Regions from separate parts of the Homo sapiens genome. Here region 1 is linked to region 2. Evidence: promoter capture Hi-C in 16 types of primary human blood cells and fetal thymus (Javierre and others, 2016). All regions are on one chromosome and are shown on one strand. Each heading gives the region's core, a stretch centred on a gene start or on the middle of the fragment in contact. The rest is flanking DNA. Distances are from core to core; before and after follow the strand shown.

Region 1 (2,700 bases), core at 84-2,583, 520 kb before region 2:
AGCAAATGACCGGGCCCTAGAAGTATGTTTAAGACAACTTCAAATATCCATACATTCTGGATTAAAGTCAAGGCAAAGTATCCTGAAATTGCCACAAAAGCACCGAAAAGCCTGCTTCCATTTCCAACATCCTATCTTTGTGAAGCAGGGTCTTCTGCAGTGACAGCAACCAAAATGAGACTATGAAGTAGGCTGGACATAAGCAAACACACTTTGGGTGTCAATGTCTACCAACACACCCCCCCAGATGGGACTGCCTAGTTGCAGAAAAACAAGCTCAGGGGTCCCACTGATTCTACTCTATGGTGAGTTGTATTCATATTACAATGTAATAATAATAGAAATAAAGTCCACAATAAATGTAATGCAGGTGGGGCATGGTGATTCACACCTGTAATCCCAGCACTTTGGGAGGCCAAGGAGAGGATGGCTTGAGCTCAGGAGTTCGAGCTCAGGAATTTGAGACCAGCCTGGTTGACATGGTGAAATCCTGTCTCTACTAAAAATACAAAAATTAGCCAGATGTGGTGTCGCATGCCTGTAAGCTACTCCGGAGGCTGAGGCACGAGAATTGCTTGATCCCCAGAGGTGGAGGTTGCAGTGAGCCAGTATCGTGCCACTGCACTCCAGCCTGGGTGACCCAGCGAGACTCTTGTCTCAAAACAAATAAATAAAATAAATGTAACGTGCTTGAATTATCCCAACACCATCCCCCTTCCCCCAGTCCATGAAAAACTTATTGTCCATGAAACCGGTCCTTGGTGCCAAAAAGGTTGGGGACCACTGCTTTAGGGAACATTCCCCCTGGGCCAGGTCCTAAGCTGGAAGCAGGGGGTGCAGGTAAGGCCCATGCTCGCAAGTTCCTGATGCTACCTACAGAGCTCCCACCAACATCTGGCCACCCACAAAAACGGCTGCTCCCTCCAAAGAATTGACTTTCACCCTAAGTTCATCCATCTAACCTACTTCCAAGGAGGGGGCAAAGTAAACAGTAGATAAAGCACAGGCGTTGATCCAAAAGAGGAGTCCAAAACCCGGCCCTGACATGTACTAGTTTGTGGCTTTGGCTCCCCTCCAAGGCTTTCTCTATCCTACTGTGAAAAGAGATAACAACACTTATCTTTCCCAGTTACTGTAAGGTTTAGAAATAATGTATCTAAAGCACCTAATAAGCACACAGTCTCCTTAAATTAACATTAATTGAATCTCTCAGGTCAGAGCTGTCCTTATCAAACAATCACAATTAGGGACTGACTGGCAACGAGAAAGGAGGGAGAAAAATCACAGGGAAAATGGAACATGAGGAATGGAAGGGGAAAAAAATCATTCCTCAAAGTCTCCTTCAATGAACTACCGCCTCTTCAATGAAGCCTTCCCTCTCCTCTCCTTGCATTCCCATAGCACTTAATCACATTGAAATAGGTCCTTAGCTCTGAGAATGAATGAGATGCCAGGCACGGTGGCTCACGCCTGTAATCCCAGCACTTTGGGAGGTCGAGGTGGGCAGATCACCCGAGGTCAGGAATTCGAGACCAGCCTGGCCAACACGGTGAGACCCTCGTCTCTACTAAAAATACAAAATTAGGTGGGCGTGGTGGCGCATGCCTGTAATCCCAGCTACTCAGGAGGCAAGGCTGGAGAATCGCTTGAAACCGGGATGCTGAGGTTGCAGTGAGCTGAGATTGTGCCATTGCACTCCAGCCTGGGCGACCAGAGCGAAACTCCGCCTCAAAAACACAAACAACAACAAAAACAGAAAGAGAAGCAATGTCTCACTCCCACGTAATGCAAACCTCTGAGGATGCCAAATGCCCTAGCCCTACAACCCTGATCCAAGAGCAATGTACACAGGTAGCAGCACATTTCTTAACACCAATGCTACCCGTAAAGTACCTCTGGTGAGGATTAGCGGGAGGGTTTTTCCGCATAAAGACCTGCCACCTGAAGGTTAGACTCAGAACAGAGGAAGAAAACTGAGTCCTGAAGATAGAACGCAAAGGAAGTCTCTAACTTTAGAGTCCCTGGAGTCACAGCAGGCAGGCAGGCGCACCGCCGATACTGCCAAGAGGACCAGAGTTCGCAACTCCCCGCAGCAGTTCCGGAAGCTGGGGACGAAGCCAAGGAGAGAGGACGTGGGCAGGGCCGTGCGCGGACTTGTCCCGGCGCCTAGATCCCCGCCTTTGCCCGGGCGCACTGCGCGCGCGGCCCCCGCCGCTTTTGTCTTCTTCGCCCGACCGGGAACTTCCTCTGTCCCGCCCTCGGGCGCGCACACGGGAACTTGGGTAGGAAACGGAAAGCGTTTTGTGCATTTTTTTTTTAACAGAGTAAACTGACGCAGAAAATTCAGCATCTAACCTCCCCAGGACCCCCTATGGTCACCAGTTACCAACCTCCGGGCTGTCCCGGGCGGCGGCGACGGCAACGTTCACGCGCGCCGCGAGTTCCCAACACCCCTCTTTCGGCACTTCCGAGTCCCAGCGACATCGGCGGCGGCTGCGGGCTTCCCCGGGACGCCACCCTCTTTCCCCCGGAGCTGCCCTTTGGAGGAGCAGCGCAGCGCGCGTCCTCCGAGCACGCCCCTGCCGCCGTGCCCGCGCGCCCTCCGCGCCCGGACTCGGGAACCCGCGGCGCTCTCCGGGCGATGGCGAGCAGGCCGTGCTGCTGCAGGGGGCGGGCCAGAGCGCGGCCTGCGTTTCTGAA
Region 2 (2,700 bases), core at 170-2,669:
AAAAGTCTCATTTACTGTTGCACAGCCTCCTGCAAACCGGTCCTCTAGATAGATGAGGAAGGTGAGGGCAATCTCATCAAGCACCTGTTAGGGTACATGCAGGACTTGAATTTCAGGTAATAACAAGGAATGCCTTCTTGTTCTCTGACGCACTGTCTATATGGTATTTTTAATCTTTATGCCAATAATAATTGCAAGTACATATAAAGCACTTGATAAGTGCTAAATATTGTTGCAAGCAGTTTACATGTAGTTATTGAATTCCCACAATACCCCTGAGGTAGGTACTATTACTAACCTCTTTCTACAGATAAGACACCAGGGCCTAAAAAGCTTAAGAAACTTTCCCAAGTCTGTAGTAACTGATGGAGTTGGGGTCTAAACCCCAATAGTTGGCTCCAGAGGCTATGCTTTTACTCATTACACGATAGTGATCAGAGGAAGCAGGAACTCCAGTCTGGGCAACATAGTCAGACCCTGTCTCTAAAAAAAAAAAAAAAAAATTAGCCGGGCATGGTGACCCATGCCTATATTTCCAGTTACTTGGGAGGGTGAGGTGGGATAATTGCTTGAGCCCAGGAGGTTGAGCTATGATTGTGCCACTGCATTCTAGCCTGGATGACAGAGCCAGACCCTGCCTAAAAAAAAAAAAAAAAAAAAAAAAAGGAATTGAACTGGGTGCCAGTGCCTGTAATCCCAGCACTTTGCGAGGCTGAGGCGGATCCCTTGAGCCCAGGTGTTGCAGACCAGACTGTGTAACTTAATAGCAAGACCCCATCTCCAAAAAAAAAAAAAAAAAAAAAGGAAGAAAAAAGAAAGAGAAAAAAGCAAACAACAACAAAAAAGAAGGAAGGAATTATTATTCTCATTGAAGAGATGAGGAAACTGAAACCAAGAAGCCAAGAAGCTAAGTAACTTACCCAGGGTCACACGGGTAAGAGGCAGAGTAAAGGTAGAATTCTAGTCCTGAAAGCCTATGGCTTCTCCCAGACAGGACCAAGTGTCCTGGTTCTCTTCTTCATGTGCAACTCCACTTACACAGGCCCACGAGTAGTAGGGCCAACCCAGAATCTCAAAACCCTTATTTGTGCTTAACTGTCTGCATACTGCAGGGTAATTATGGGCCGTGAAGGAGGGAGGCACCCTCTCGACTTAGATCTGAACTCCCAGTCGCTTCCAGTTCCCAGGACCACCAGCCCTGAGCCGTAAGGCTAGGCCTGAATCTGGGACTTTCTTAGCCGGAGTTAGAAGCGGAGGAGTAGGGTGGGACGCTGGACGGACGCCGCTGGGCCGGGCAGCCCAGAAACGCGGAGTGTCATATTTCTTGCAACTCGCCAATCCCGAACGCCGGGGGGCGTGGCCACACCTGGGAGGCGTGGCCGGGCGGATGCGAAGGCTGCGGCGTCCTGGGGCGAGGCGCTGACGTGAGCTCGGCGCACCTGGGCTGGGCAGGTAAGGGCTGGTGCGGGACGGGGAGAGGAACCTGCAGTCCCTACTTGGGTAGAGCCAGGCGCCCCTTGGCTAAGACGTCGAGGAGCGTGGTAGCGACGGGTGATCTTCGCTGCGGACTTGGTTCGGAGGGACGTCCGCTTCTGGTGGACAGATTGAGCAAAGGTGGGTACGCCAACTTCTGGGGACCAGCTTGAGGGAGGAGAGGCTCCCCCGTGGGTGGGGTAGGACCCATCCCCGGAGTTTGTAGGGGGTGAGAGAACTTGCTTGGGGGCATCTGTGTGTTTGGGGTGGGTACCCACTGGGGCTGGGTGCCTGTCGCCCTTTTCCAGATAGCTTTGGGGCGGCCTCAGTTCTGTAGCGCTAGGCCCCTCTCGAATCTACACTTGTGTCTACTCTCCCTACCCCCACCGCCGAAGCGGAGGGCACTGCTCTCGGCCGTCAACAACCCCACTATCCGGTAGAGCTAAAGCACCGCGCCCCCTTCAGTCTTACCAACTTGCGGCTGGCCCCTGTGTCCCAGAGAGGGGACTTCCCAGGTCCGCAGGTCCTTGATCCTAGTGGGCGTTTTGGGAAACTGGAGTGAGGGTGGCCAGGAGCTTTGGAGCATTGGCGGTTTGTCTTCCCTCCCTGAGTCTGTTTGGCACAGTTAGGCCCTTCGCCCTGGGCCTGGGAGACAACCTTGGATTTCCAAGGAGCGGAGCTAGGTGCTGGGGAGGGTGGCGCTGGGGTGTGGTTGCTCTGGGGGTGGGCCCTCTTTGCCCGAAGGGGCTGGAGGGTGGTGTGGAGAATGGGGAAAGTCTCCCAGGCCTGACTTGGAAAGGAGGCCTGAGGTGTCACTCTTTACAGGGAGCCTGCTTTGTGGTAAAGGGGTCATCCTGTTCCAACCTGTTCTCTTGGTGGATGTCAAGAGTGGAAGTCAGGGAAAAGAGATGGATAGAGAGAGGAAGGCGCTTGGGTGGGATTGGTGAAAGCTGGTGTTGACCCAGGAGTGTGGTTTAGGATGAGACGTGTGTATGATGTATGACAGTGGCACTCAATACCTTGTAACTCCCATTCGCCATCCCCCAGCTTCCATCCAGCAGAAGGGAAGGGTGTGGGCATTTTGACTAGAGGCCTGCAGTTTACCCCTAAGCAGGGCTAAACAGGGAAGCCTGAGGAACGGAACTTAGACGATGGCATTTCATTTCTTTCAGGAGAAAGGGAAGAGCTGGGACTGCTAAGAATTGTCTGCGAGAAATGGCGTGTGTT

What was found. The method cuts DNA at HindIII sites, captures the fragments that hold promoters and counts their contacts. A CHiCAGO score of 5 or more calls a contact.
Region 1: a fragment that was not itself captured here is called in contact with the fragment with the promoter of IRF6 in region 2 in 1 of 17 cell types (total B cells); the score reaches 5.5 in total B cells.

Annotation. Positions count from the first base shown.
Region 1 is chr1:210,328,795-210,331,494 of GRCh38, reverse strand. HHAT (hedgehog acyltransferase) reads right to left here and starts at 2,593. Exons shown (of 12, transcript NM_018194.6): 1 at 2,391-2,593. RefSeq lists enhancers at 735-904, 2,017-2,376 and a silencer at 2,537-2,700. The HindIII fragment of the contact is 5,497 bases long and covers 1-2,700 here.
Region 2 is chr1:209,804,861-209,807,560 of GRCh38, reverse strand. IRF6 (interferon regulatory factor 6) reads left to right here and starts at 1,419. Exons shown (of 9, transcript NM_006147.4): 1 at 1,419-1,614. RefSeq lists a silencer at 1,154-1,497. The HindIII fragment of the contact is 4,987 bases long and covers 336-2,700 here.